7 separate regions of the Homo sapiens genome follow, and regions 1, 2, 4, 5, 6 and 7 are each linked to region 3. Evidence: promoter capture Hi-C in 16 types of primary human blood cells and fetal thymus (Javierre and others, 2016). All regions are on one chromosome and are shown on one strand. Each heading gives the region's core, a stretch centred on a gene start or on the middle of the fragment in contact. The rest is flanking DNA. Distances are from core to core; before and after follow the strand shown. Region 1 overlaps CCNT2 (cyclin T2). Region 2 overlaps CCNT2 (cyclin T2). Region 3 holds the start of LCT (lactase). Region 4 overlaps MAP3K19 (mitogen-activated protein kinase kinase kinase 19). Region 5 overlaps MAP3K19 (mitogen-activated protein kinase kinase kinase 19). Region 6 overlaps CCNT2 (cyclin T2). Region 7 overlaps RAB3GAP1 (RAB3 GTPase activating protein catalytic subunit 1).

Region 1 (2,700 bases), core at 123-2,622, 880 kb after region 3:
AGCTTTTCATTGTTCACCTAGCAGTAATACCGTCCTCCCTTCCATGAGCATCACCCTTTTCCCAAGGCACAACCGCTGAGTTTTCAATCACATTGAAAACTCATCTTATTATGTACTAAATTCCTGTATGCTCTGGGCCCAAGCTCAACCAAAGACATTTTAACCCCCAAGTTCTAAAAAGTAGATCTACAGCATCTCCTTAACTTTAACCTACTTTAGTCGTACACTGTGTAATGAGTAGCTCCAAGATAATAACCCACTTAATCTGCTCAAGGAGCAGCCAAAAGCTGCATACCATCACCTACCAGGCCGTCTTTCTTCTTCATACGAGCTGCACTTACAAGTATTAATTCAGTTTAAAGCAGCTATTTAAATGCAGAAACTTGCATTTTAAAAATCTTTCCAGGTGATTCTGCCAATTAAAAAATCTCTGGTGTAAGCAGCCTCTCTCTCTACTGGTAATAAAGTTTAAAAAAAAGTTTGTATATGCCATTACACTGTCAAGTTTATAGAGGATAGTGCTTTCTCCTATTGACAGGACATCACGACATTATGAAAATCCATGGCTGAATTCATCCATAAAGCAGTCACTAACAGGCTGACGTGAAAGACTATAGAAAACTGGCCTCCTCAACTGTGTCTGAACATTTGAAAGGTCTAAGTAAGCCTCTTAATTTCATGGCAATATAATAAAAATATTTTGTCAGTGAGGCCCTACATTGTTTTGGGAGGTGGTATTGAGGGGAAGGAATAGGCAGGCCATATGCTACAGCTAAAATAAAAACATACAATTTATTATATTGAAAAGTGCAGGGGGCAGGGGTGAAGGAATAAACAATGGACTTAGATGAGTTTGGTTAGATGGAATTACTCACTTTGTAAAGTTAAAACCCATCCAATTTATTATGTTAATAGAACAAGCCCTTACTGGTGTCAGCACCAGTGAGACAAATCTCTTAACTGTGATACAAAAAATATTTATGTTACATTTAGGCTGAAAATGTTTTATTTTTAATTAAAAAAAAATTTTTTTTTTTTTGAGATGGAGTCTTGCTCTGTCGCCTAGGCTGGAGTGCAGTGGCGCTATCTCGGCTCACTGCAACCTCTGCCTCCCAGGCTCAAGCGATTCTCTCCTGCCTCAGCCTCCTGAGTAGCTGGGACTACAGGCGCGCACCACAACGCCCAGCTAATTTTTTTGTATTTTTTAGTAGAGACAGGGTTTCGCCATGTTGGTCAGGCTGTTCTCGAACTCCTCACCTCAGGTGACCCGCCCACCTTGGCCTCAAACTCCCAAAGTGCTGGGATTACAGGCATAAGCCACCGTACCCGGCCTGAAAATCTATTTTAAAAGAAGCGACTTTTCTATCCTAATTCTACTTTATCAAAGTTATTGCAATTAGCTTTCATTTTCTTTCAAGTGGAAGGTGCAGGGAAATTGCTGGTAAGGAGAGGGAAGCTGGCGAGCAGCCTTATTAAAGAACAGCTTATGCTTAAATATTTTTGAAGGGGCCGGGCATGGTGGCTCACACCTGTAATCCTAGCACTTTTGCAGGCCAAGGTGGGCGGATTGCTTGAGCCTAGGAGTTTGAAACCACCCTGGGCAACGTATCAAAACCCCGTTCTACCAAACACAAGAACAACAACAAAACAAAACAAAACAAAACAAACAAAAAAACCACAAAAAAACCCCCCAAAATTAGCCGGGCATGGTGGCACATGCCTGTAGTCCCAGCTACTCAGGAGGCTGAGGTTGGATGATCGCTTGAGCCTGGGAGGCGGAGGCTATAGTAAGCCAAAAATCACACCACTGTACTGTACTCTAGCTTGGCTGACAGTGAGAACTTGTCTCAAAAAATAAAAAATTTTAAATGGGTACTGCAACTATTCTTTGTGCTTTTTATGGGAGTGATGCAAGAGGTTAGACAAGAAAATCTTAAAACAGAAATTAGAATGAACAACTTAAGAGAATTCTGGACACAGCGGGCATGCAGTATTTAATATGTTCCAGTTACACACCTGGATTGGCCTTCATCATTCCAATATCCCACATCTACCCCTCAATTAGGATTCTCTTTAATGCTATTCTATCTAGCCTTCCTTGACCATCCAAGCCTTACACAACTCTATGATGAACAGGTACTACTACTAACACTTTGTAGGGAAGAAAAAGCATGAGATCAAGTAATTCACCCAATGCCATTCTGTTATTAAATGGTAGGGCTGAGACTAGAGCATGGACCATTTGATCCCAGAGCCTGCACTCCTGAATGATACATGAAATTACTTGGATAAAGGGTCAATTATACTAGAGATCTCACATTTTCCAGGGACTGAAAGTTACTTCTGTTTTTGTTGTTGTTAAGGAATCTTGCTCTGTCGCCCAGGCTGGAGTGCAGTGGTGCGATCTCGGGCTCTCTGCAACCTCTGCCTCCTGGGTTCAAGCGATTCTCTTGCCTCAGCCTCCCGAGTAGCTGGGATTACAGGCATGCACCACCACACCCGGCTAATTTTTGTATTTTTAGTAGAGACAGGGTTTCACCATGTTGACCAGGGTTGTGTTGAACTCCTGACCTCAGGTTATCCGCCTGCCTTGGCCTCCCAAAGTGCTGGGATTACAGGCATGAGCCACTGCGCCCCACCTCAAAGTTACTTCTGATTCACATTAACTTAAGACATGTTAGAGCCTTGGATTTATGTTGT
Region 2 (2,700 bases), core at 91-2,590, 900 kb after region 3:
AAATTAATATTATTTTCTGAACCTATGCACTATTGGCCCACACTTGACTGAAATGGGACTAGCAAAGCTCAATGGGGGATGGATAGAGTCCTAATACTTGGAAGCCCTCCGGAGTTTTAGTGAAATGAGATTCTTACCTATGTTTAAAGGAAGCTAACATACCAGGTAGAATCACAAATAGAAGTAGATGTAGAACACTAAAAAGTAATGCTTAAAAAATGACATTTCTCCCTAATTTTAATGAAACCTAACAAAAGGCTAGAAAAACAAAATAGCACCCAAATCAATTACAGATAATAAAAAGCATTAATACTTATCTTAAAAGTTTCAAGGATCACCTACCTCTTACTAACTGGGTACATTTCACCACATCTGTGTGTGGGTGTTCAATGGTGATCTCAAAACCTGAAATGATAAGCACTTTTTTTTCCAATCTCTTACCACTACAGTACTTGCCTGAGAAATGCCATAAACGTATAATATATTCTTCATTATTAAGAAAAATCCAAAGTTATAAGTTTCTCATCACTGACATTCTCATTACTTTTCCAATGACAAGATATAATTTTTCAAATACAATGTCTCAATTATGAAAATAAAGTTAAAAGACCAAGGGTAAATTTATTCAAAATTCTGAATTATAAATGATTCGGGATTATCTTAAAAACAAATTAAATTCCTGGCAAATACAACTGTTAAGCTGGTCCCACAATTTAAGGACGGAATTCAACTACGTAATATCTTTCTTAATATTCCAAAGCTTTCTTTCAGAAGACATGAAAAGTGCAGTTTTCATAAACATAACTGTTGGGCCACAGTGGTAGAAACGAGCTTTTAAATGATACGGCACTCTAGATCAAAGGGTTTCAACCAGTTACCTTATAACCATACTTCATTAATAATCAAAATCATATGACAAACCATAGAGGTCTCATGACTGCTTAAACTACTGTTTCTAATACCAAAGATGAAATGTTTAAAAGCTATCAACGTGCAATCAACCCTTAGGTGTGGCAGGGTTTCTGTTTTTATTAAAAGTGAAGATCACATTTGGTTGTCTTCAGAAGCAGTAAGTAAATAAAATCCTAACAAATGGGTAATCTAGATTTATAAAGTTGTTGTGTGGTCTATATATAGTTCTACTGTAATTAAATATGCAGAATACTTTAAAGCCATAGAGGCATATCTTCTAAATTCTAATGTTCCCCTTAAAATAACACTTTTCATTCTCTGTGCTTAAGAATATGTCATAAACAATATGGATATTACATTACGATTTTATATAACAACTAAATATTTTATAATGATTTATGATTTTTCATTTTCAATTTTTTACTTAAATGAAATTTATATAATTTTGTATAGTAAAACAATAACATGCTAAATCATTGGATTTGGAAGAAATAAGACCCTCACTTTTTTGGTATCTTTTTATTTTATAGAAACTTCAAATAATTTACAGCTGACCTCTGAACAACGCAGGGCCTAGGGGTGCCGATCCCCATGCAGTCGAAAATCCAAGTACTCCCCTAAGACTTAACTATCGTTGATCAGAACCTGCTTACCGCTGAAGCCTTACTGGTAACATAAACAGTTAATCAACACATATTTTGTATATGTATCATATACTGTATTTTTACAACACAGTAAGCTAAAGAAACTATTAAGAAAATCATAAGGAAGAGAAAATGTATTTACTAGTATTAAGTGGAAGTGGATCATCATAAAGGTCTCCATACAGAGTAGGCTGAGGAAGAGGGGTTGGTCTTACTGTCTCAGGTTGGAAGACACAAAAGAGGAGGCAGGAGAGGCAGGCAACACCTGGTGTAACTTTACAGAAATACACCACAATTTCTGTCTTTCGCTGGCATTAAATTCTCTGGCTTTAGATCCTTCACCTTCCCTTTGCTTTAAGCTTCTCTCCAATCATATTAGAGTCCATAGGTATGCCTTTCTTACAGCAATCCTGCATTCACATAAAAGCTTCATTTTCAATATGAGATAAAGTGCAAGGTTTTTGTGCCTGCTGGTATAGCTGCAGCGATGACTTCACAAATGTCTTTTTCTTCTTTCACACTGAACCTTACACTGGATTCATTTATCTTGAAATGGGCAACTGTAGCTACAGACCTCAATCTACAGTACATATCAAACAATTCAACTTTTTTTTGTAACATCACAACTTTCATCTGCTTCTTGGGAGCACTTCTGGCATCACTAGAGGCACTTTGTATGGGTCCCATGGTATTAATCCAAGTTTCCAGTATCGCACTAAATACGGTAAAAATATGCCAGAACCTCTTTTACCGCAATATGTAATTTACTGGAGAGACAAACTGTTCAGAGATGACAGGTGTCACACAGCATTTTACGTGGATACTCATAACATGTGAGCTCACTGCAATAGCAACAGGAGGTGGCTACAAAATTATCACAGCAGTACAGTTACGTATTATTAAAATTAATTTTATGTACCTTTACATTTGTTTATTTACATTTTCTCTTAACTGCGAATAGAGCCACATATTGTCTGTTTGTGTGCCTAACTTTTTAAAATTTTTATCTTTTAAAAATAGATTTATGTATATTTTATGGCAGTAAATGATAAAATAGACTAATATCTATATATAGTTTATGCATTCATGACATATCCAATTTTTTCAATATTTCTAGGCTACAGCTCACCTACAAGTTTTTTCA
Region 3 (2,700 bases), core at 100-2,599:
TAAGAGCTATTAAGTGAAGAAAAGGCTGAAAATACATATGGCATAATTCCATATATGTTAAATTGTTCTATATTTTAAATGTTATACACGTTTCCATTTGTATTTACGTAATAATAATGATCCCTGAGCTGTACTGTTGTATACATGCTACAAGAAAGACCCATTTAATCCCCACAGCCTATGATGAATTATCCACATTCTACAGGTGACAAAATAGAGGCACAAAGTTAAGTAATTTTTGTCAGGTGAGATTTAAACCCAGGCATTCTGACTCCTGTATAACCATTAAGATATGCAGAGAAAGAAAACTGGAAAGATACATATTGCTGAAGATACTTATTATAGGAAGAGGAGGGGGGAGGGTGAAGGAATTTGCAAGTTTTTCATAGATGTTTCCATATTGTTTGAATCTCTTACAAAATATGTTCAGCATATTTTTAAAGAGAAAATTTGGGGCAAAATACTTATTTTTGTATTATGTAAACAAATTTTAAAATAATGTGTGGCTGGGTGCGCTGGCTCACACCTGTAATCCCAACACTTTAGGAGGCTGAGGCAAGAGGATTGCTTGAGCCCAGGAGTTCAAGACCAGCCTGGGTGACATGGCAAAACTCCATCTCTACTAAAAATACAAAAAATTAGCCAGTCGTGGTGGCGCACACCTATGGTCCCACCTACCCAGGATGCTGAGATGGGAGGATCACTTGAGCCCAGGAAGTCAAGGCTGCAGGAAGCTGTGATCGCACCACTGCACTCCCACCTGGGCAACAGAGTGAGACCCGGTCACCAAAAAACAAAAAAAACAAAAAAAATTGGTAATCGTTTTCTTCAGACATTTTCCGGGTTCCTCTGCTTAACTTGTATAGGAAGTCTGAGGTTTTTGTGTTGGTCTTTACCTTTTTTTTTTTTTTTTTTTTTTAAGATGGAGTCTCATTCTGTTGCCCAGGCTGGAGTGCAGTGGCATGATCTTGGCTCCTGCAACCTCCGCCTCCTGGGTTCAAGTGATTCTCCTGCCTCAGCCTCCTGAGTAGCCGGGACTACAGGCGCATGCCACGATGCCTGGCTAATTTTTTGTATTTTTAGTAGAGATGGGGTTTCACCATGTTAGCTAGGACGGTCTCGATCTCCTGACCTCGTGATCCGCCCACCTCGGCCTCCCAAAGTGCTGGAATTACAGGTGTGAGCCACCACGCCCGGCCCTGATCTTTACATTTTTAAATATTGCATTAGTGAACCGTGTACTGATTTTGTGATCATAGATAACCCAGTTAAATATTAAGTCTTAATTATCACTTAGTATTTTACAACCTCAGTTGCAGTTATAAAGTAAGGGTTCCACATACCTCCTAACAGTTCCTAGAAAATGGAGCTGTCTTGGCATGTAGTCTTTATTGCCCTGCTAAGTTTTTCATGCTGGGGGTCAGACTGGGAGTCTGATAGAAATTTCATTTCCACCGCTGGTCCTCTAACCAATGACTTGCTGCACAACCTGAGTGGTCTCCTGGGAGACCAGAGTTCTAACTTTGTAGCAGGGGACAAAGACATGTATGTTTGTCACCAGCCACTGCCCACTTTCCTGCCAGAATACTTCAGCAGTCTCCATGCCAGTCAGATCACCCATTATAAGGTATTTCTGTCATGGGCACAGCTCCTCCCAGCAGGAAGCACCCAGAATCCAGACGAGAAAACAGTGCAGTGCTACCGGCGACTCCTCAAGGCCCTCAAGACTGCACGGCTTCAGCCCATGGTCATCCTGCACCACCAGACCCTCCCTGCCAGCACCCTCCGGAGAACCGAAGCCTTTGCTGACCTCTTCGCCGACTATGCCACATTCGCCTTCCACTCCTTCGGGGACCTAGTTGGGATCTGGTTCACCTTCAGTGACTTGGAGGAAGTGATCAAGGAGCTTCCCCACCAGGAATCAAGAGCGTCACAACTCCAGACCCTCAGTGATGCCCACAGAAAAGCCTATGAGATTTACCACGAAAGCTATGCTTTTCAGGGTGAGTACACATTGACCTGATGGTGACCCCTCGGCAACCTTCATCACACACCTTCCCCATCCTCCTTAGAGCAGATTCGACATTTCTCCCAACTCACCTTCAGCAGTCCTCTTATGTCTGTGCATAGGGAGAAATTAATATTGTAAATTGATTTCCCACTGGCGATAGGAAGGGGTAGCTAACATGGCAAAACACTCAGCATTTCCTTTGAAAAATATCTTTGAGGCTCACGCCTGTAATCCTAGCACTTTGGGAGGCCGAGGTGGGCGGATCACTTGAAGTCAGGAGTTCGAGACCAGCCTGGCCAATATGGCAAAACCCCGTCTCTACTAAAAATACCAAAATTAGCCAGGGATGGTAGCAGGCGCCTGTGATCCCAGCTACTCGGGAGGCTTAGGCAGGAGAATTGCTTGAACCCAGGAGGCAGATGTTGCAGTGAGCCGAAATCATGCCACTGTACTACAGCCTGTGCGACAGAGCAAGACACAATCTCAAAAAAAAAAAATATGTATACATATATATATATATATATATATATATATATATATATATACACACATGTATTTTTGAAATACCCCTTGCCCAGTCTTGAGTTGTGCAAGCACTGATTGTCTTTCTGTCTTCCTTTCCGTCTATGTCCTGCTACCCTGACTTGGAGGCAAAGTTTCGTGGTTTCCTGTCCTTCCCCCTCGGCTCC
Region 4 (2,700 bases), core at 129-2,628, 800 kb after region 3:
TTGCAGTGAGCCGAGATCGTGCCATTGCACTCCAGCCTGGGCAACGAGAGTGAAACTCCGTCTCAAAAAGGAAAAAAAAATCTTGCATTTTTGAAGTATAGAAAGGTGACTTGATCTTGCAGAGGGAGGGTGAAGAATGGCACAAGATAAAGCTGGAAATGCAGGCAGGGGCTGGATCATGCAAAGCCATAAAGGCATGCAAAGCCATTTTCAAAAACAGCTTTATTGAGATAAAATTCATATACCATACAATTTACTTACTTAAAGTGGCCACTTCCATGTTTTTTTGTATATTCATATTAATGTGCAATCCTCACAATTGATTTTAGAGCACCTATCATCTCAAAAAGAACTTCATCCCCAGAAAAAGAAGATAAAAAGAAACCCGATATCCTTTAGCTATCACTCTATATCCTTTCTTCCCAACTCCCACCCCAGCCCTAAGCAGCCACTTACCTACTTTCTGTTTGTATAGCTGTTCCTTTTTTATTGTTTTTTGTTTGTCTGTTTGTTTGTTTTGAGACAGGATCTCACTCTGTTGCCCAGGCTGGAGTGCAGTAGCACGATCACAGCTCACTGCAGGCCCTACCTCCTGGGCTGAGGTGATCCTCCTGCCTCAGCCTCCCAGGTAGCTGGGACTACAGGCATGTGCCATCATGCCCAGCTAATTTTTGTATTTTTTGTAGAGACAGGGTTTCACCAAGTTGCCCAGGCTGGTCTTGAACTCCTGAGCTAAAGTGATCCACCTGCTTCGGCCTCCCAAAGTGCTGGGATTACAGGTGTGAGCCACCGTGCTTGGCCTCTGTAACTTTTCTTATTTGGGATTTTCATATGAATGGAATCATATAGTATGTGGTCTCCTGTGATTGGCTTCTTTCACTTAGCATAATGTTTTCAAGGTTCATTCATGTTGTAGCATGTGTCAATACTTTATTTTTATAACCAAATAATATCACATTTTCTTGATATACAACATTTTGGGATTTTAGGCTAAAGATAATAGGTTTGCTTCCCTCAAGAAATAGGGTTTGGCTCTCCCTCTCCCTCTCCCTCTCCCCCTCCCCCTCCCCCTCCCCCTCCCCCTCCCCCTCTCCCCACAGCCCACGGTCTCCCCCTCCCTCTCTTTCCACGGTCTCCCTCTGATGCCCAGCCGAAGCTGGACTGTACTGCTGCCATCTCGGCTCACTGCAACCTCCCTGCCTGATTCTCCTGCCTCAGCCTGCCGAGTGCCTGTAGCGCGCCACCACGCCTGACTGGTTTTCTTACTTTTTTGGTGGAGACGGGGTTTCGCTGTGTTGGCCGGGCTGGTCTCCAGCTCCTAACCGCGAGTGATCCGCCAGCCTCGGCCTCCCGAGGTGCCGGGATTGCAGACGGAGTCTGGTTCACTCAGTGCTCAATGGTGCCCAGGCTGGAGTGCAGTGGCGTGATCTCGGCTCGCTACAACCTCCACCTCCCAGCCGCCTGCCTTGGCCTCCCAAAGTGCCGAGATTGCAGCCTCTGCCCGGCCGCCACCCCTTCTGGGAAGTGAGGAGCATCTCTGCCTGGCCACCCATCGTCTGGGACGTGAGGAGCCCCTCTGCCTGGCTGCCCAGTCTGGAAAGTGAGGAGTGCCTCTTCCCGGCCGCCATCCCGTCTGGGAAGTGAGGGGCGTCTCTGCCCGGCCGCCATCCCATCTAGGAAGTGAGGAGCACCTCTTCCCGGCCACCATCCCATCTAGGAAGTAAGGAGCGTCTCTGCCCGGCCGCCCATCGCCTGAGATGTGGGGAGCGCCTCTGCCCCGCGGCCCCGTCTGGGATGTGAGAGCATCCGGCCGCGACCCCGTCTGGGAGGTGAGGAGCATCTCTGCCCGGCCGCCCCATCTGAGAAGTGAGGAGACCCTCCGCCTGGCAACTGCCCCGTCTGAGAAGTGAGGAGCCCCTCCGCCCGGCAGCCGCCCCGTCTGAGAAGTGAGGAGCCCCTACGCCCGGCAGCCACCCTGTCTGGGAAGTGAGGAGCGTCTCCGCCCGGCAGCCACCCCGTCCGGGAGGGAGGTGGGGGTCAGCCCCCGCCAGGCCAGCCACCCCGTCCGGGAGGGAGGTGGGGGGGTCAGCCCCCCCGCCCGGCCAGCCACCCCGTCCGGGAGGTGAGGGGCGCCTCTGCCCGGCCACCCCTACTGGGAAGTGAGGAGCCCCTCTGCCCGGCCAGCCACCCCGTCCGGGAGGGAGGTGGGGGGGGTTAGCCCCCCCGGCCGGCCGCCCGTCCGGGGGGTGGGGGGCGCCTCTGCCCAGCCACCCCTGCTGGGAGGTGGGGAGCCCCTCTGCCCGGCCAGCCGCCCCGTCTGGGAGGGCGGTGGGGGGGTCAGCCCCCCGCCCGCCAGCCGCCCCGTCCGGGAGGTGAGGGGCGCCTCTGCCCGGCTGCCCCTACTGGGAAGTGAGGAGCCCCTCTGCCCGGCCAGCCGCCCCGTCCGGGGGGTGGGGGGCGCCTCTGCCCGACCGCCCCTACTGGGAAGTGAGGATCCCCTCTGCCCGGCCAGCCGCCCCGTCCGGGAGGGCAGTGGGGGGGGTCAGCCCCCCACCCGGCCAGCTGCCCCGTCCGGGAGGTGAGGGGCGCCTCTGCCCAGCCGCTCCTACTGGGAGGTGAGGAGCCCCTCTGCCCGGCCAGCCGCCCTGTCTGGGAGGGAGGTGGGGGGGTCAGCCCCCCGCCCGGCCAGCCGCCTCGTCT
Region 5 (2,700 bases), core at 59-2,558, 840 kb after region 3:
TATTTTATTTTATTTACTTTTTTGGAGATAGGGTCTCGCTCTGTTGCCCATGCTGGAGTGCAGTGGTGCAAACATGGCTCGCTGCAGCCTCAATATTCCAGGCTTAAGTGATCCTCCACCACAGCCTCCTGAGTAGCTGGGAGTACAGGTGCATGGCACCACACCTGGCTACTTTTAACATTTTTTGTAGAGATGGGGTCTCGCTATGTTGCTCAGAGTGGTCTCTACACATTTTTAAAAGGCTTTGACACATGTTACCAAATTACCTACCAGAAAGATCTTGCCTCTACATTCCCACCAAAAGTCTTTACCCCACATAATTCCTGACCAATACTGGATAATACATATTCAAATATTTATAAGAATACTTGAAAGCGTTTTTTTAAAAAATTCAGGATGCTATCCATTATGTACCCAACTATAAATTATATTCAGTTGTATTTCTAGATTAACTTCTAACATCTTTTCAATAGAAAACCTCAACCTCTAGAATGCAACCTCTGGGAGCAAAGAGCAAAGATCTGTCTTTCCTGCCCACAACTATAAATTGCCATCTTCTGGGACAGTGTTGGCCACTCAGCAGGCACTCAGTAAATAATTGTTGAGTAAATGCATTAAGAATGAAGGGGAGGTGCCATGGCCAGCTGTGTCCAAGGGGAATGCCTGTGCCCCCTCCTGTTGCCTGTTGGGGTCCTCTTCTTAGGTGACTTGTTTTTCACCTGGGATTGGCTTTTCTACTGTGTTAAATCTTAGAAGTCTTTTTCTCTCCGTGTGAAACTTCAGAATGACAGCCTGAGGCTGAAATGGACCTACAGACATTTGTTTGACCCTCACAACATTGAAAAACAAGGGAGGAGAGGCCAGGCCCAGTGGCTCACACCTGGAATCCCAGAACTTTGGGAAGCCAAGAAGGGAGGATTGTTTGAGCCTAGGAGTTTGAGACCAGCCTGGGCAATACAGTAAGACCCTGTCTATACAAAAAATTAAAAATATAAAAATTTTAAATAAATAAGCAAGGGTGGGGGAAGGAGATTTCACATAAAACCTGCAGCTTGGGTTGGGCGCGGTGGCTCACACCTGTAATCCCAGCACTTTGGGAGGCCGAGGCCGGTGGATCACGAGGTCAAGTGTTCGAGACCAGCCTAGCCAACATAGTGAAACCCCGTGTCTACTAAAAAATAAAAAATACACAAAAAATTAGCCGGGCATGATGGCAGGTGCCTGTAATCCCAGCTTCTCGGGAGGCTGAGGCAGGAGAATTGCTTGAACCCAGGAGGTGGAGGTTGCAGCGAGCTGAGATCATGCCACTATACTCCAGCCTGGGCGACAGAGCGAGACCCTGTCTCAAAAAAAAAAAATCTGCAGCTCTCTGGCTTCTTTTGGAAGATGTAGCAGGGCTGGACTATCTATCTGGGTTGGATAACATCACTGCGAGCTGGGTAATGATGCCCCTTTAGTTGGGCATATGATCTCGATTTACTGCTGTGTCTTCCTGTCCCACATCATCCATTTCTGTGAACTGTTTTGACCCTGGAGACACTGGAGCTTTTGGCTTCAGCTTTAGAAAGTCCAAACTATGCAGAAGTGGTGGTGGTGGTGGTTCATGGGGTTTTGGGGATCATTCTGACTTTTTGGTAAGAAGAGAACAACTTGTAAGTTTTATACTACCTAGTAAGTCCCATCTCGTTCCCTAGGTGAGTCTTCCTCACACTCACCTTTCAGAGTTTATGGTCGATCTAGTTTAAACAACTGTTGGGAGACACTTATACAAGAATATTTTCACATTTCTGCACAGTTCAGGCTTTCTAAGCAAAAAACACTAGGAAACTAAGTTAAAAGATGACTGAATGTCAGAAACGCCTCCGAAGTTAGTGTATTGCTCCAGAGAAATTTAGAGGCTGATTTTCCCAAAAGCTGTTTGCTTATATTCTAGGGTAATAAAACATAGAGTCATCTTTCTCCTGGAGGCATTTGCTTACAATTCATAGTAAAGTGCTCTCTCCTTCTCTGGAGGGAAAGATGGGCTAAAGTGCCACCACCCAATATACCACCTGAGTCTCATCATTCCAGAGCTCCCTCCTGTGATGCAGCTCTGCCAGCTGTGCAGGTCAACACCCGGCTCTCATCACGTTGCCCTGTGAGGAACTGGGTTGTGGGGAACTGGCATTACAATGTTCTGTGAGTGATAAATGGTCTGCTCTCTGGTCCAGAGATCTCAGGTTTTCTGTCAGAATAGAGATATAAATATAAAACAGCAACCCCTGCTAGTGGCAGCAGCCTGAAGTTTTGTGTGATGATTCCACCTCTGTGTGAATTCCACAGGGGAAACCTCCAATTTCTACAACTTTTCCTCAGACCCCTTAGCATCTGTATTACTCCATCCCCAGACTCTGGCTTGAGACTGTTTTCTTTCTACTACTAAGAATATCCAGTTATTGTTTTTCTTGTTGTAGAGTTTTCGACCTCTCATATGAAGTACAGTGGCCGAAGCATCAAGGTAAGATTAGTGCTAGCATTTTTGACTTGAGAATTAAAACCAAACAACTCTATTCACTAATTTAGAACCAAATCCTCAGCAATTACACTTGACCCTTCAACAATGCAGGGGGTAGGGTCACTGATGTCCCCAACACAGTCAAAAATCCACACATAAGCTTTGATTCCCCCAAAACTTAGCTACTAATAGCCTACCGGTTGTTT
Region 6 (2,700 bases), core at 9-2,508, 910 kb after region 3:
GGGAATCACTTGAACCCAGGAGGTTGATGCTGCAGTGAGCCATGATTGTGCCACTGCACTCCAGCCCGGGTGTCAGAGGGAGACCTAGTCTCAAAAAAAAAAAAAAAAAAAAAAAAGGCAGCTATCCAAGTTTCCAATATTATTGGAATCTAGAGTTACCATATGATCCAGCAATTCTACTCCTGGGTATAAGCCCAAGAGAAACCAAAAACACAAGTCTACACAAAAACTTGTACACAAATGTTCTTAAGAGCACTATTCATATTAGCCAAAAAGTGGCTAACAATCCAAATGCCCACCAACTGATGAACATATATATATAATGTGGTCTAGCCATACAGTGGAATAATGGGTAGTACAGCAAGAAAAGTAAACAACCTACTGAATAAATACAACAACATAGATGAGCCTTGAAAACACGGTAAGTGAAAGAAGTCAGTCACAAAGGACAACATACTGTAGGATTCCATTAATGAAATGTCTATTAATAGGCTGGGGGAAAAATAGGGAGAAATGACTGCGGGGTTGGGGGTTTCTTTTTGGTGTAGTGAAGACTTCTAAAAATTGATGCACACCTCTGTGAATATTCTTAAAAAAACCCACAAACCCCACGGAATCATACTTTCAATGGGTGAAATGTACAATATGTGAATTATATCACAAAAAGGGCAAAAATCCAGTAATTATCCTATATGATACGTGCCACTGGGTGTCCATATGAGATGAATCAAGAATTCCAATACAAAAATACCAATTTGTAAGAAAGAAATGACAGAATTAGAGTATCACCAATGAATGAAAGGACCCAGGCATTGAATATCAGCAGCCACTAACACTACAAAGAGAGACAACCAGACTTTAGACCTTCTGACCAAAGAACATTAACACCATCTATAGCCTTGCCTAAGGGATCTAACAGGAGTCTGATTAAGTTTCTGGATCTAATCATCAATTTTTCCAGGAATGCAAGAAAAAAGGAACACAGTAAACTGCACCATGAGTATACAATCAGCAAAATTCAGACAGTTGGAAACTCTACAGGTCACACACTCTAGGGTCCTTCAACAGCTACAACTTAGTTGACATAAAAAGATGGAGGGGAAACATGCATACTGAGAGACTTCAAAGACTTACCAAATTTTTAATAATGAGCAAGGTCTATGGTATTTGGGAATGCAGAGTTGGGTGCTAAAACTATAAAGAAAGTGATTAGAGTAAGAATACTGGGGCCGGGCGAGGTGGCTAACGCCTGTAATCCCAGCACTTTGGGAGGTCGAGGTGGGGGGAATCACGAGGTCAGGAGTTTGAGACCAGCCAGACCAACATGGTGAAAACCCGTCTCTACTAAAAATACAAAAATTAGCTGGGCATGGTGGTGCATGCCTGTAATCCCAGCTACCCAGGAGGCTAAGGCAGGAGATTCACTTGAACTCAGGAGGCGGAGGTTGCAGCGAGCCGAGATTGCACCACTGCACTCCAGCCTGGGCGACAAGACCAGACTCCTATCTCAAAAAAATAAAAAAGAATACTGGTTACTTTTGGAGGGAGGGGATCGACACTGAGTTGAGCACGTGGAGACATTCCGGGGTAGTTGGCAAAGTTCTATTTCTTGACTTGGTTGGTGATTACAAGGTTGTTTTATAATAATCCACTATACATTTGTTTGGTGGTTTTATATATTTTACAATTAAAAAGAAAACACTCATCTCATATATGTACAGTTACACTACAGCACTATAAACTCCCAAATAGATGGAATACAACTGGATGTGAATAAGATTCAAAGGTAAGATCAGAGAGATAAATTCACAAATGGAAAAGAGAGTTATCTGGGGAATGCTTTATGAAAGAGTAGCAACTTCAGCTGAGTCTTAAAACCTGACAGAGCACAGTCACATGAAAGCAAAGAGAAAGCACCCTAAGGAAAAACAGTGATACACAATGCATAAATGCTAACACTGATGTATAGTTGAAAAAGAGGAATTTGGGACTTATAAAGAGGACCTCATTGGATTTAGTGCAATGAGGCGGGCAAATAAAAATCTGAGGTTTTTTCATTGTTTACTTTATAAATCTTACAAATCACTGGCATAAATTGCTACTGTGCTCTACTTCTGAAATATACTAGAACAGGAAAAAGTGAGAACTACAGTTTGGGATTAAGCAAAGGACTTGGGTTCAAATCCCAGCCACGTAATAGTTTTAATTTCGGACAAGTCACTTGGTAACTGCGTCTGCTTCCTTAGGAGAATACTTTACCTGAGAAAACAAGACAAATATAAAGTGCCTGGCATAGTGAGATCTTAATAAAATTTCAACCAGGTAATTTATAGTTTAAAAGGAATTTAAAAATCATCTAGGCTAATCGTCTCAAATTTACAGGTTAGTACCTACTACATTGAAGAGCACAGATACACAAAACTTGCGCTATGCAGAAAGTTCTACTGGACAGCACTGCAGTATTTCCAAGTAATGCTAATGGATCTTGGGCATAAGATTATTGTTGGATTAATTATTGCTTTATTAAACTAAAAGGCAGAAAGAGAAGTAAGCTATAAACACCTGCTTAGACTTCACAATGAAACATATGCTGATTTGACTTCTGTAAAACATGACCAGAGTATAACAATGAATTGAAATGAACAGGAGAAAAAGCAAAATTTATTTATTTTTATTATTATTATTATTGTTTTTTGAGAT
Region 7 (2,700 bases), core at 167-2,666, 740 kb after region 3:
AGTCCACTTTTATAAAAGTCCCTTAACAAAGTTAAACAGGCTTGGAGCTAATCTGAGAGGTGCTTGATATGAAAACTGAAACGAGAAGATCTTAAAATAGATAAAGATTAATAGACAAACTCGAACTACCAAAATTGAGCATTGGACATAAATCCCAAAAATCTATTTTCTAGAATTTGATTTGAAAATATAAGTTAATCATATAGTAATTTTAAATCACTCTGACAGGGTCAACCTATACTAATTGTATATTTATGGTATAAATAAGTACAGATGCATATATTGCAAAATCGTTTTCAAATTTTCATTGTCATTGCTTTAATTCTGGTTTAACTTTTTAAAATTCAAATTTAAATAAATGTTTAGGTGAAAACTTCTGTGTATGTTATTCTTCAGTATCTCTGAAGCATTACAAGTAATCTGTATCCTTGAAATTTTTGAGAAATGTATTTATTAACAATTACAATAAAAATTATATGAATAAAACAGAAGGAGAATATTATGAAATCCTCTTAAGATGTCTGGTTCACATTAGTCTTAAAATACCCACATACCAAAGTCCTTCTCATCTTTTCCCATTCCCAACCCTCTACTGCTATACCCAACCTTACCAAACTACCTACAAGTTTCAAAAGTGCATTTAAACATCATCACCTCTACTAATTCTGCCTCAAGTATCTTTTTACCTAACTTATTAATTAAGCTTATTCACCTGGTTTATTCTCACTTGTCTTTCAGGATTCATGTGAGGTATCACCTTGTCTGGAAACATTTTCCTGACTTAATCTGTCTGAATTACAGGTACCTCCTATGAGTTTCCATCAAACTTGTGTTCTGCCTCCTATGAGAGCATTTATCACAAAATGTTATTGTTGTCTACTCCCTTATCTATTAATCCCATAGATTACTAAGGCAGTAACCATGTTTTATTCTTGATATTTCTGTATCTGGATCACAGTAAATGTTTAAAAATTATATTTGTTGAATAAAAGAAAATACACATACATTTAATATGCTTAACTTTTAAACAGTTCTCAAAAGCTTTGTTGTTGGCTTCCTAAACTTTAAGAAAGGTCAAGTAAGACAAAACTGAAAGTGACTTCCAACCATACGGCAAACTAACATGACACAGGCCCTCCTTGTCCCAAAACACACAGAAATACCTGATCAAATATGACAATGCTGTCAAAATACACCGCTGAATTTGAAATAATAAAAAGGAGATTCCTGGGTAACAGAAACAAAGAGTATACTGAAAGGCAAAAGCGAGCATAGAAGGTGACTGAAAAATACCAGGGGATGATCAGCTTTGGCTATAGGCCCTAACAGCTGGGCACTGGGAGCTGGGATTTTATAGGGTAAGCCTTTTACTGCTGAAAGTCTGTTAGTTTGACTTATAAAACTGTTTGCAAAACTGACTATGCTGTGCTAGACTGAAGAGAACAAGAATGATGGAAGAAAAGTCTGTTTACGTCTGACAATACCATGTATTTTAGCCTAGCAGTCATAATGTGAATTATATAACTCTGAGATGATAAGGTACACCCAGCCCAGGGAAAGTGGTCTCTGGCATGCATCCAGATTAGGCTATGTCCAAGAATGCCCCAGTCTCATAATAATAAATATAAATAAGTCTACACCCAGAAACTAGGCTTCCAGAAGCACAATATCACTCAGATATCATCATCCATAACTGTGCCTCTGCTTACGAGGCCCTGGGACTTGGAAGCTGCCTATCTTTCTGATGAGATTACCAATCTCTCTGCTATATAACCTAAACGCACAAGCTTCCTTCTGTATCCTTTATATTTAGATTTACTCCATCAATCCAAATCACTACAGAGGTTGTAATGTTTTGAATGACCTCTCAGGGATATGGGTATACATGAGACAAGGTACTGGAACTGAGACTTCTGCTTACATCCTGGACCCTAGAAGGAATTGCCACCTCAATAAAATGAGAATGCCAGGCTCAGAAAGTTTCAAAGGCAAATTCTATCAAACGGTTAAAAAAAAAAAAATTTTACACTCTCTCAAAGAAAATAAAAGAGAACAAAATACTTTCTGACTCACATTATAAGGCCAACATTACTCTGATACCAAAACCAAAGCAGGAGAAAAGAAAATTACAGACCAACATCCCACATGAACATAGACACTGAAGTCCTCAACAAACTATTAGCATATCAAATACAGCAATACACATACATACACACACACACACACACACACACACACACACACAGAAATACAAATTGCACCACAAAGAAGTGGAGTTTATCTTGAGAATGCAAAGCTGGTTATATATCCAAAAATCAGTCAATGCAATCAACATATTAAAAATCTAAAGAAAATAAATCATATCAATTTAAGCAGAAAACAACAATCATATCAATTTAAACAGAAAAAGGATTTGACAAAATTCAACATCCATTCATAATAAAAACTCTCAGCAAAGCAGGAACAAAAGGGAATTTTCTCAATCTGATAAAGAGCATCTACGAAAAAACCTACAGCTAACATCACACTTAACAGTAAAAGACTAAATGCTGTCCCCCTGAGATAAGCAACTCCTATTCAATATTTTACTGGAAGCCCTAGCCAGTTTTAAACAGAAAAAAAAAATGAACAGACTGCTTCATGGTATCTTGTAATACATATTTTTAAAAAAGCACAGAGATTAGAAAAGAAATAATACTA

What was found. Contacts are between HindIII fragments. The CHiCAGO score rates a contact against its expected background, and 5 or more counts as called.
Region 1: a fragment that was not itself captured here is called in contact with the fragment with the promoter of LCT in region 3 in 4 of 17 cell types (erythroblasts, naive CD8 T cells, activated CD4 T cells and 1 more); the score reaches 7.1 in erythroblasts.
Region 2: a fragment that was not itself captured here is called in contact with the fragment with the promoter of LCT in region 3 in 6 of 17 cell types (erythroblasts, fetal thymus, total CD4 T cells and 3 more); the score reaches 12.5 in erythroblasts.
Region 4: a contact is called between a fragment that was not itself captured here and the fragment with the promoter of LCT in region 3, in 1 of 17 cell types (naive CD8 T cells). The highest score is 5.2, in naive CD8 T cells.
Region 5: a contact is called between a fragment that was not itself captured here and the fragment with the promoter of LCT in region 3, in 12 of 17 cell types (erythroblasts, naive CD8 T cells, megakaryocytes and 9 more). The highest score is 11.9, in erythroblasts.
Region 6: a fragment that was not itself captured here is called in contact with the fragment with the promoter of LCT in region 3 in 1 of 17 cell types (erythroblasts); the score reaches 7.5 in erythroblasts.
Region 7: a fragment that was not itself captured here is called in contact with the fragment with the promoter of LCT in region 3 in 1 of 17 cell types (naive CD8 T cells); the score reaches 5.9 in naive CD8 T cells.

Annotation. Positions count from the first base shown.
Region 1 is chr2:134,959,333-134,962,032 of GRCh38, reverse strand. CCNT2 (cyclin T2) reads right to left here. Exons shown (of 9, transcript NM_058241.3): 9 at 2,691-2,700. Among named protein-coding and RNA genes, the nearest start is that of CCNT2, 42 kb to the right of the region's middle. The HindIII fragment of the contact is 2,736 bases long and covers 5-2,700 here.
Region 2 is chr2:134,940,317-134,943,016 of GRCh38, reverse strand. CCNT2 (cyclin T2) reads right to left here. Exons shown (of 9, transcript NM_058241.3): 5 at 343-405. Among named protein-coding and RNA genes, the nearest start is that of CCNT2, 23 kb to the right of the region's middle. The HindIII fragment of the contact is 1,155 bases long and covers 763-1,917 here.
Region 3 is chr2:135,835,833-135,838,532 of GRCh38, reverse strand. LCT (lactase) reads left to right here and starts at 1,349. Exons shown (of 17, transcript NM_002299.4): 1 at 1,349-2,003. The coding sequence starts at 1,364. The HindIII fragment of the contact is 13,164 bases long and covers 1-2,700 here.
Region 4 is chr2:135,033,216-135,035,915 of GRCh38, reverse strand. The region is part of intron 2 of MAP3K19 (mitogen-activated protein kinase kinase kinase 19); the gene reads left to right. Among named protein-coding and RNA genes, the nearest start is that of MAP3K19, 13 kb to the left of the region's middle. The HindIII fragment of the contact is 6,241 bases long and covers 1-2,700 here.
Region 5 is chr2:134,991,334-134,994,033 of GRCh38, reverse strand. It overlaps MAP3K19 (mitogen-activated protein kinase kinase kinase 19), which reads left to right. Exons shown (of 13, transcript NM_025052.5): 9 at 2,454-2,497. Among named protein-coding and RNA genes, the nearest start is that of MAP3K19, 55 kb to the left of the region's middle. The HindIII fragment of the contact is 2,696 bases long and covers 1-2,656 here.
Region 6 is chr2:134,923,276-134,925,975 of GRCh38, reverse strand. The region is part of intron 2 of CCNT2 (cyclin T2); the gene reads right to left. Among named protein-coding and RNA genes, the nearest start is that of CCNT2, 5.8 kb to the right of the region's middle. The HindIII fragment of the contact is 4,940 bases long and covers 1-2,700 here.
Region 7 is chr2:135,098,977-135,101,676 of GRCh38, reverse strand. The region is part of intron 5 of RAB3GAP1 (RAB3 GTPase activating protein catalytic subunit 1); the gene reads right to left. Among named protein-coding and RNA genes, the nearest start is that of SNORA40B, 36 kb to the left of the region's middle. The HindIII fragment of the contact is 746 bases long and covers 1,044-1,789 here.